Linked DNA regions of Homo sapiens: region 1 is linked to region 2. Evidence: promoter capture Hi-C in human tissues and cell types (Jung and others, 2019). All regions are on one chromosome and are shown on one strand. Each heading gives the region's core, a stretch centred on a gene start or on the middle of the fragment in contact. The rest is flanking DNA. Distances are from core to core; before and after follow the strand shown.

Region 1 (5,355 bases), core at 1,901-4,400, 640 kb before region 2:
GGAAATAAAAGGCCAGGCCCAGGCCCGGGTATGGTTTCATCTTTACATTTAAATCTGCAACCCCGCCGGGCGCAGTGGCTCACACCTGTAATCCCAGCACTTTGGGAGGCCGAGGCAGGCAGACCTCTTGAGGTCAGGAGTTCGAGACCAGCCTAGCCAACATGGCGAAACCCCGTCTCTACTAAAAATACAAAAATTAGCCGGGCATGGGGGTGCACGCCTGTAATCCCAGCTACTCGGGAGGCTGAGGCAGGAGAATCGCTTGAACGCGGGAGGCAGAGGTTGCAGTGAGCTGAGGCTGCGCCAATGTACTCCAGCCTGGGTAACAGAGCAAGACTCCATCTCAAAAAAAAAAAAGGTGGGGGGGGCATCAGGGGAAATAAAGGCAGACCATACCACTTCTTTCTCTGTACAAAATCTTGCACTTAAGAAAAGGCTCCCACCTCACTGGGAGGAAAAACTGGAGTCCTCTCCATGGCTCTGGATGACCTTCCCTGTCACCAATCTGTCCTTGTCTTCCCTTCTCCCCCTCACTCATTGCAGTCCAGCCACACAAGCCTCTTCAGTGTTCCTGGCACACAATAGGCAGGGTCCTGCCTCAGGACCTTTGCCTTTGCTATTCCCTCTGCCTCAACTCTTCCCCAGAGATCTGCATGGCTCCTCCTAGGTTCCTTCATGTCTTTACTGAAATGCTATCTTCTGAATGTGACCACCTTAACTCCCTATTTAAACTTCCAACTCACACTCTTCATTTCACTTTTGTTTTTTCCGTAGCCCCTATCTCTCATGGACGATACAATTTACTTATGTTTCTGGTCTGCAGTAAACAAGCCTTTTGCCAGGTATGGTGGCTCATGACTTTAATCCCAGCACTTCGGGAGGCTGAGGACGGAGGATCCCTTGAGCCGAGGAGTTCGTGACCAGCCTGGGCAACATGGCGAGACCCCCATCTCCATGAAAAATTAAAAAATTAGCCAGGTGAGGTGGCTCCTCTGTAGTCCCAGCTACTTGGGAGACTGAGGCAGGAGGATCCCTTGAGCCTGGGAGGTTGAGGCTGCTGTGAGCTATGAACATGCCACTGTACTCTGGCCTGGGTGACAAAGTGAGACCCTGTCTCAAGAACAAACAAACAGGGCTGGGCACAATGGCTTACACCTGTAATCCCAGCACTTTGAGAGGCTGAGGCCGGAGAATCACTTGAGCCTAGGAGTTTGAAATCAGCCTGGGCAACACAGGGAAACCTCTGTCTCTACAAAAAATACAAAAATTAGCCAGGTGGAGTGACGTGCACCTGTGGTCCCAACTACTCAGGAGGCGGAGGTAAGAGGATCACTTGAACCCACGAGGTTGAGGCTGCAGTAAGCCGTGATCATGCCACTGCATTCCACTCTGGGCGAGAGAGTGAGACCCTGTCTCAAAAAGAAAAACGAGGGCCGGGCGCGGTGGCTCACGCCTGTAATCCCAGCACTTTGGGAGGCCGAGGCGGGTGGATCACGAGGTCAGGAGATCGAGGCCATCCTGGCTAACAGAGTAAAACCCTGTCTCTACTAAAAATACAAAAAATTAGCCGGGCGTGGTGGCGGGCGGCTGCAGTCCCAGCTACTTGGGAGGCTGAGGCAGGAGAATGGCGTGAACCCGGGAGGCGGAGCTTGCAGTGAACGGAGATCGTGCCACTGCACTCCAGCCTGGGCGACAGAGCAAGACTCTGTCTCAAAAAAAAAGAAAAGAAAAGAAAAACGAACAAAAAAACCCCCCAGACCTTTGAACAAGCCATCCCCTCTGCCCACCAGAATGTCCGCTCCATGAGGCAGGTATCTTTGCGCTCCCAGCATTTCCAGTCCTGCTCTTGAGCATATAAGCCAGCCTGCTGTCCTGGGAAAGGGGTGGGTATAACTTAGCAGGATCTGTTTGATTCTTGACTCTCAGAATCTCCCCCCAGAGAAACATGAGAACATGTGTACCTGAAAACCAGGGCAGAACAAGGATTTCCTTGCGGCACTGCTTGTGATACGGAATAAACGTCATCCTCGTAAAAGTTAATACTTAGGGAACCCACTACCTGCCAGGCACTCTTCTAAGCTCTTTGCCTATTTTAACTCAATCATCACATCAACATATAAGGCAGGAAGGGAAAAACTCCATCCACACTGCTCCTTCTCAAGACTGAGAATTTACAAAGACAGGCCTCTCTGCCCTCCACCTGCCAAGCTAACTAGGGGTTTCCTCTTCATCCGAGTCTCCCTGGGCTGAGTTGCTTCACAGAAATAGGTTTAGGGGAGTGCAGTCCAGGTTGTGAAGGGTCCCCCGGATGTGTTGGATCTAGGGTTGTGGGAATGGGGCCATACGGAGTCCCAGATGGGGCACCAGAACTTCAAGAAGGGCAGGGCTGAGTGCCCCAGGGTGTCCAGAGTCCCAGGCCAGGTGGGGAACTAAGCGGGGGAGGATGAGACCGGTGAGGGGGCGGGGCTGCCCCCCCAGGGCCTGGTTAGTTACAAGGCCTGGAGGTGGGGCCAGTCCCAGGATTGGGCCGCCAGAGTTCTAGCGGGCGGGGCCAAGCGCTCAGAAGGCGGGTCGAGGGGCTGGGTGCACCCTAGGATTGGGCAGTCGGAACGATGGGAGGCGGGGCCACGAGCCAGGCGCGTCCCGGCCAGGCAGTACGAGACCCAGGCCGCCGGCCCGGCTCCTGGGCGGGGTCCGCAGGTGCCGGGGGCTGGCCCTAGAAGCGGAGGGGGCGGGGTAAAGCCCGGCGGGGTCTGGGGGCGTCTCCTCCCTCCCTCCCTCGGGGCCAGGCCCCCTCACCCGTGGCGGCCGCTCCGCTGGCCGCGCTCCAGAGAGATGAGGTAGGCGGCGAGCTTGGCGTCGCTCCAGCCGCTGCGGCGCCGCAGGTCCACCCAGGGCCCGTGCGCCTCGCCCAGGTACACGCGCCGCACGTCGTACTTCTTCCGGGACTCGAGCCGTCGCCGGGCCCGGTCCGACTCCGTGAGTCGCGGCCGGCCCCGCGCCTTTCGGCCCGCTGCGCCCTCCTCGGCTGCTGCCTCCCCGCCCGCGCCCGCCTCAGCCTCCGCCTCCGCCTCGGGCTCTAGCGCCCGCTCCGCCATCCCCCCCACCCTGGTTACCAGCCTCCCCCGTTGTTAGGAGCCAGACCGGAAGTGGCGCGCATCTTCGGCGCCGCCGAGAAATTTCTCACGGTCTCTCGCTGCCCCAGGGCGCCAAAAGGAGACCAAGAATGGAAACTGCGCATGCGCACAACCAACAGCGCTCCCGCCCCTTTTTATTTGAATTCGGAGAACCAGAGGCGCCTGCAGATTCTGGAGGGGTCTCGCCTGCCCATCGCTGGCAGCCCGAGATCCTGGGGAGGGGATGCCATACTGCTAGAGATGAGGGAAGAGAGCCCCAAGCAGGAAAACATTGATTTGCTGTACACTCAAAGGGCATCTCATGCCTTCAGTCCACCGCCTCCTCGGGCCACAGCCCGTGCCCTCGCGCCGGCTCAGACTAGCTCTGGCCCTGCTGCTGTCGCTGCAGGTTGTCGTCTTCTTCCTGGTGGTCCTCGGGCAGGGGCGGCTCCTCCAGCCCTGCAGAGGATGTCTGGAGCTCCCGGGTGGACCCGGCGAGGCGGAAGACCACGGGGATCTGGGCCAGGGTTGGGTTGGTCTCCTGCAGGCCCTGGATCCACTTAGCCATCGTCGCCTGGTCATGAGCACCCGCCATGCACATGGCGAAGACAGGGCCTTCCTCCACTGTTGGAAGACATGCACCCTTAAGGTTTGCACAGTGGGGGCTGCAGCGGCTAACCCATGCCTACACCTTTTTGAGGTATTTTACACTCCCTTCCACTTCCTTTTTTTTTTTTTTTTTTTTTTTGAGACGGAGTCTCGCTGTGTCACCCAGGCTGGAGTGCAGTGGCGAGATCTCGGCTCACTGCAACATCCGCCTCCCAGGTTCAAGTGATTCTCCTGCCTCGGCCTCCCGAGGAGCTGGGATTACAGGTGCACAGCACCACGCCGGGCTAATTTTTAAATTTTTAGTAGAGATGGGGTTTCACCATGTTGGCCAGGCTGGTCTCGAATTCCTGACCTCAAATGATCTACCCGCCTCAGCCTCCCAGAGTGCTGGGATTACAGGCGTGAGCCACTGTGCCCGGCTTCCTTCCACTTTCTTGTGCCTCCAAACCTTTGCACAAGCTAGCCCCGCTGCCTAGGCTGCCCACTCCACACTTCACCCGGGCGATGACTCCTGGTTTTTCTGTATTCTGCCAGGAAGGCCTCCTGACCCCCCACTCAAGGCATGCTCCTCTCCTAAGCTCCCCAAAGTGTAATTTGCCTGTTCCCTTGCTGACTCGAGGGACTAGGTTTGTCCTGGTGACACCCAGTAGCCAGCACAGAGTTGTAGGAGGGAGGGAATGAACAAGGGCCAACAGGGCTGGGTGACCTCAGGTCTGGAGCCCCTGGGGCAAATGAGTGTGTGCGGCCGGAGGACGAGGGTGTAAGTGGACTGCGTCTCAGCCTGGGCCTACCCCTTGACCCCAGAGGCCGCCCCTCATCCTGGGTGGTGTTTGGAATGTTTGGAAGTCCTGCCTGTCCAGGTTTTTGCCTTTTTTTTTTTTTTTTTTGACACAGGGTCTATCATGTAGGCTGGAGTGCAGTGGCTCTATAATAGTTCACTGCAACCTCAACTCCTGGGCTCAAGTGATCCTCCCACCTCAGCCTGTAGGAGGGCTGGGATTACGAGCACACATGTGAGCCACCGCACCTGGCCCAGTTTTTACCTTCATTGATGTCAAACTCGTAGTTGTCCCAGCCACTCCTCACATACTCCAGGTCCAGCTGCATCGGGTAGTAGAGGTTCCACTCCTCCGGCGTCTCTTCCACTTCCTACTCCAAGGTGGGGAGTGCAGGCGGGGTCAGAGGCCAGGGCTCTCTCGGTCTCCCTCCTCCAGCCTCTCCCATGCACCCTCAGGGTAGTGCCAGCCCACTCCCCAGCCCCAACACATGCTTTGCTTTAAGCCCTCACCCTCTCCTCCGGGGGCAGCAAGTCAGCTCTGAGGATGTGGTAATACACACACTTGTTGCGGAGCCACAGGGAGAAGGGGCCCTCAACAAAGACAGGCCGGGCTGGATTGTGGCGGGCCAGGGCGGCCTGCTGATCGGGACTCTGGATTCCTGGTGTGGAGACATACATGCCCTGTGCCCTGCAAGGGACTCGGCCCAGAGGCCCAGGGAGCCCAGCCTAGGCCCAGCGAGAACCTGGCAGGGCCTGGGTAAGGTTAGAGACTTGGCTGCCCCCATGCTCTCGGACTTACCTACGATGTGGGGCTGGGGGGGATCTGCTGCACCTGTTGAGTCTTTGGGCAAA
Region 2 (5,216 bases), core at 1,283-3,782:
GGGAGCCCAAGGTGGCAGATCATGAGGTCAAGAGATTGAGACCATCCTGGCCAACATGGTGAAACCCCATCTCTACTAAAAATACAAAAATTAGCTGGGCGTGGTGGCGCATGCCTGTAGTCCCAGCTACTCAGGAGGCTGAGGCAGGAGAATCTCTTGAACCTGGGAGGCGGAGGTTGCAGTGAGCCAAGATTGCACCACTGCACTCCAGCCTGGCCACAGAACAAGACTCTGTCTCAAAAAAAAAAAAAGATATTAGGCCTGGCGCAGTAGCTCACACCTGTAAGCCCAGCATTTTGGGAGGCTGAGGCAGGTGGGTCACTTGAGGTCAGGAGTTCAAGACCAGCTTGGCCAACATGGAGAAACCCGTCTCTACTAAAAATACAAAAATGGCCGGGCGCAGTGGCTAACGCCTGTAATCCCAGCACTTTGGGAGGCCAAGGCAGGTGGATCACCTGAGGTCAGAAGTTCGAGACCAGCCTGGTCAACATGGTGAAACCCTGTCTCTACTAAAAATACAAAAATTAGCTGGGTGTGGGGGCACACGCCTATAGTCCCAGCTACTCAGGAGGCTGAGAAAGGAGAATCGCTTGAACCTGGGAGTTGGAGGCTGCAGTGAGCCGACAGCACACCACTGCACTCCAACCTGGAGCAAGACTCTGTATCAAAAAAAAAAAAAAAAAAAATTTGAAGGCTGGAAAAAGATTAGAAGGCCGGGTGCAGTGGCTCACACCTGTAATCCCAGCACTTTGGGAGACACTGGTGTGGGTCACTTGAGGTCAGGAGTTTAAGACCAGTCTGACCAACATGGTGAAATCCTGTCTCTACTAAAAATATAAAAAATTAGCCTAGCGTGGTGGTGGGTGCCCGTAATCCCAGCTACCCGGGAAGCCAGGAGGTGGAAGTTGCACTGAGCCGAGCTCACACCAACACACTCCAGCCTGGGCAACAGAGTGAGACTCTGTCTCAAAAAAAAAAAAAAAAAAAAAAAAAAAAAAAAAAAAGAGTTTAGAGGCTGGGCATGGTGGCTCATGCCTGTAAAGCCAGCTACTCGGGAGACTGAGGCAGAAGAATCGCTTGAACCCAGGAGGCAGAGGTTGCAGTGGGCTGAGAATGTGCAACTGCACTCCAGCCTGGGAGACAGAGCCCGACTCTGTCTCAAAAAAAAAAAAAAAGAAAACTCGTGAGAACGAATGGCATAAAATACGTAGTGTACCCGATAGCCAGCCATTTATTATAGGATATTTTTGAATAGGAACTTTAGCCTTTTGTTTTGATAAAGCTTTCTGAGGCAGTGAGTCTGACAATGGCACTTCCGTTATCCCTTTAGTGAGTTTCTTAAAATGAGGGCTTGCCACTTAGGTATTGGGCTTTCAATAGGAGGGAAAAGATTTTTCTGACCTTCCTGTATATATATACCTGCCACTTTGCTGGGCTAACCTTATTATTATTATTATTATTTTGAGACGGAGTCTCACTCTGTCACCCAGGCTGGAGTGCAGTGGCGCAATCTTAGCTCACTGCAACCTCCACCTCCTGTATTCAAGCAATTCTCCTGCCTCAGCCTCCTGAGTAGCTGGGACTACAGGCGCCACCACACCTGGCTAATTTTTGTATTTTTTAGTAGAGATGGGGTTTCACCATATTGACCAGGCTGGTCTCGAACTACTGACCTCGTGGTCCGCCTGCCTCGGCCTCCCAAAGTGCTGGGATTATAGGCATGAGCCACTGCACCCGGCCAAACCTCGTATTTTTTTTATGACAGAACTGTCTTAAGGTCTTACTGGAGGTGTGTCTCTCTTAAGAGTTATTTCCAACTCTGTGTCCTAGGTATCTGAGTGAGGCCCCAGCTAAACTACTCCCAAAAATTTTTGCTCCTGGGCTACTGGCATTTATTTCTGAATGCTGTCAAATGACAGTGACTGCAGAAGCTTCAGAATAATTTTGCGATGGTTCCCATGATTTGAGGGAAACACATTTTTACCATGATTGGATTCGGTGGCTTCTAGGAATCTTATGTGAATTAAGCAATCTTCTCGCCTTGGCCTTTCGAAGTGTTGGAGCTACAGGGTTTTTCTCCAGTGTGAGTCCTTTCATGGATTTTAACGCTCGAGGCACATCCAAAGGCTTTACCACATTGTTTACATTCATAGGGTTTCTCTCCAGTGTGAGTCCTTCCATGTGTTCGAAGGTGCGAGGCAGATCTGAAGGCTTTCCCACATTGCTTACATTCATAGGGCTTCTCTCCAGTGTGAGTTCTTTCATGATATCGAACGGAATTGAAAGAAACAAAGGCTTTCCCACACTGTTTACATTCATACGGCTTCTCCCCAGTGTGAGTTATTTTATGTGCATGGAGGCATGTGGAACTATGGAATGCTTTCCCACACTCACTGCATTCATAAGGCTTCTCTCCAGTGTGAGTTCTTTCATGTATTCGAAGGCTACCAGAATGACTAAAGGCTTTACCACACTGTTTACATTCATATGGTTTCTCTCCAGTGTGAGTTCGTTTGTGGATAAGATACAAACTGAGACACATCAAGGCTTTCCCACAAAAGTTACATTTGTAGGGTCCATCTCCACTGTGCATTATCCTGTGTCTTCGAATGCTTGAACGGGAAATAAAGCTTTTTCCACATTCCTCACAATCATAAGGTTTCCCCCCAGTGTGAGCCCATTCATGTGTTCGAAAGTAGGGGAGATCACTGAAGGCTTTCTTACAGTATGTACATTTATATGGCTTCTGTCCATATTCCTGATACTCATATGGCTTGTGTCCAGTGTCAGCTCTGTGGTGCCTATTAAGGGATGCATGACCCACGCTGACTTCTCCACATGATTTTACTCGGGGAGTTTTCTTCTTCAGCATGTCATCTGGAACCTGGGTCAAAATTTCTCCATGCTGATGATCTTTCTTACTTTCTAAGAGTCTCTCTCCCATAAGACCTCTGTGAACAATGAGAAGTATATCATAATGGGTTCCTTTATCACTGATTTGATATTCATTAACAAGTCATTGCACTTGTATTTCTAACACTGTACAGCAATGTGTAGGCTTTCTGCCCTGTCTGAACATGAACAGACCACACATGCTCTACAAGATGGCCCAGCTATACCTGTTATCAAGAAAGATAATATTGATATAGGGCTTCTTAGTACTTTTTAAACATTTTTTGAGATAGGGTCTCACTCTGTCATCCAGGCTGGAGTGCGGTGGTGAGATCTCAGCTCACTGCAACCTCCATCTCCCGATCTGAAGCCGTCCTGCCACTTCAGCCTCCTGATTACCTGAGGCTACAAGCATACCATCGTGCCTGGCTAATTTTTGTATATTTGCTAGAGATGGGGTTTTGTCACATTTCCCTGGCTGGTCTCAAACTCCTAGACTCAAGCAATCTGCCCACCTCAGCCTCTTAAAGCATTAGGATTACAGGCATACACCTGGGCGCCCGGCCAACACTATTTTCAGGTAAACTATTTTACAAGTACTAACTGTCTTTGTCAATTTTATTGCTTCTGAGTCAGGGTCTTGCCCTTTAACCCAGGCTAGAGTGTAATGGTGCTATCATGGCCGAGTGTAGCCTCAAACTCTTCAGCTCAAGCAATCTCTGACCTGAACCTCCCAAAGGGCTGGATTATAGGCTTAAGCCAGGATGTTCAGCCTATGTCACACTTAAATATATGTTTTTAGAGATTTTTTTTTTTTTTGAGACGGAGTCTCGCTCAGTCGCCCAGGATGGAGTGCAGTGGCATGATCTCGGCTCACTGCAATCTCTGCCTCCCGGGTTCATGCCATTCTCCTGCCTCAGCCTCCCAAGTAGCTGGGACTACAGGTGCCCGCCATCACGCCCGGCTAATTTTTTTGGATTTTTAGTAGAGACAGGGTTTCACCATGTTAGCCAGGATGGTTTCGATCTCCTGACCTCGTGATCCGCCTGCCTCAGCCTCCCAAAGTGCTGGGATTACAGGCGTGAGCCACCACAGCCGGCCCTAGAGAAAATTTTGTAAGAATAAATACAGTGGAACTTGGCTTATTTCTTGTTTGCTTCTTTTTAACATTTTCTTCCATTCTATGATTGTCTAGAGAGACATCACTTTCTCTTGTGAATGCGAATTACCTTAGGTTTCTCCTGGGATTTTTGTACTCATCTTCAATTTTCTGATCTTTCCATTTTTTTCCTAAAATACAGAACCAGAAAAATAGTCCTGAATTAGCAAAATTATGAAAAAAGTACTAGATTCTAAGTTCATGGTACACTGCAGCCTTGCAGCATTTATTCACATTCCTATTCCCTGTCCTCACTATTCCCTGTCCACACTCCAAATCACTCAACACTACTGACAAGCTAGAAACACTTGTTCTCTAATTCACTGAGGAAAGTAATATTGTTACCCTTACCTACAGAAGCCAGGTTCCTGAAGGTTTCCTGCATCACATCTCTGTAGAGATTCTTCTGGGAAGGATCCAGCAAAGCCCACTCCTCCTGGGTGAAGTTCACATCTACATCCTCAAAGACCACTGAATCCTGAAACATCCCACATGTGTAAAGAAACATGGGTGAGACTGACAGCACTGGGTTCCTATACTCTATTCCTACAAAGTTTCCATGGTGCTATGGACTCCAAACATTTATTCCATGATCTGGTCATCAGACTTTTTACTCTGTCAACACTCACTCTTCCATAAAGAAATTCTTTTTTTTTAATTATTATTATTTTTTGAGACAGAATCTCATTCTGTCACCCAAGTGGGAGTGCAGTGGCATGATCTTGGCTCACTGCAACCTCCGCCTCCCAGGTTCAAATGATTCTCATGCTTCAGCCTCCCAAGTAGCTGAGATTATAGGCGCCTGCCACCACGCACAACTAATTTTTGTATTTTTAGTAGAGATGGGGTTTTACCATGTTGGCCAGACTGGTCTCCAACTCCTGACCACAAGTGATCCACCAGCCTTGGCCTCCCAAAGTGCTGGGATTACAGGCATGAGCCACCAAGCCTGGCTGAGGCCCTACCAATCTGACTGATAAGAGTCATAACTAACTAAAACAAAAAATCAAGAGCAGAAACCTTTCTTGGAAACTGTGCTTGGGTAGAAAAGCCTGAATTATAACTGATGAATTGCTGGAGGTTGAATGGCAACAAGATTGGAGAGGCAAAAACTCCAGGGTGTCCAGTCTCAACAAAAAGGCAAATATTTATCAAATGTAAAAAC

What was found. Contacts are between HindIII fragments. The study calls those that stand out against the background at their distance.
Region 1: a contact is called between the fragment with the promoter of ZNF653 here and a fragment that was not itself captured in region 2, in 1 of the 25 tissues and cell types used here (dorsolateral prefrontal cortex).

What each region holds. Positions count from the first base shown.
Region 1 is chr19:11,502,689-11,508,043 of GRCh38, forward strand. ZNF653 (zinc finger protein 653) reads right to left here and starts at 3,151. Exons shown (of 9, transcript NM_138783.4): 1 at 2,800-3,151. The coding sequence starts at 3,098. ECSIT (ECSIT signaling integrator) reads right to left here. Exons shown (of 8, transcript NM_016581.5): 5 at 5,303-5,355; 6 at 5,014-5,162; 7 at 4,769-4,874; 8 at 3,241-3,740. The coding sequence ends at 3,496. RefSeq lists enhancers at 2,247-2,316, 4,769-5,355 and silencers at 2,467-3,136, 3,297-3,346. The HindIII fragment of the contact is 10,042 bases long and covers 1-5,355 here.
Region 2 is chr19:12,143,274-12,148,489 of GRCh38, forward strand. ZNF625 (zinc finger protein 625) reads right to left here. Exons shown (of 4, transcript NM_145233.4): 2 at 4,403-4,529; 3 at 4,122-4,182; 4 at 1,617-2,951. The coding sequence ends at 2,024. ZNF625-ZNF20 (ZNF625-ZNF20 readthrough (NMD candidate)) reads right to left here. Exons shown (of 8, transcript NR_037802.1): 2 at 4,403-4,529; 3 at 4,122-4,182. Among named protein-coding and RNA genes, the nearest start is that of ZNF20, 5.5 kb to the left of the region's middle. The HindIII fragment of the contact is 6,147 bases long and covers 1-5,216 here.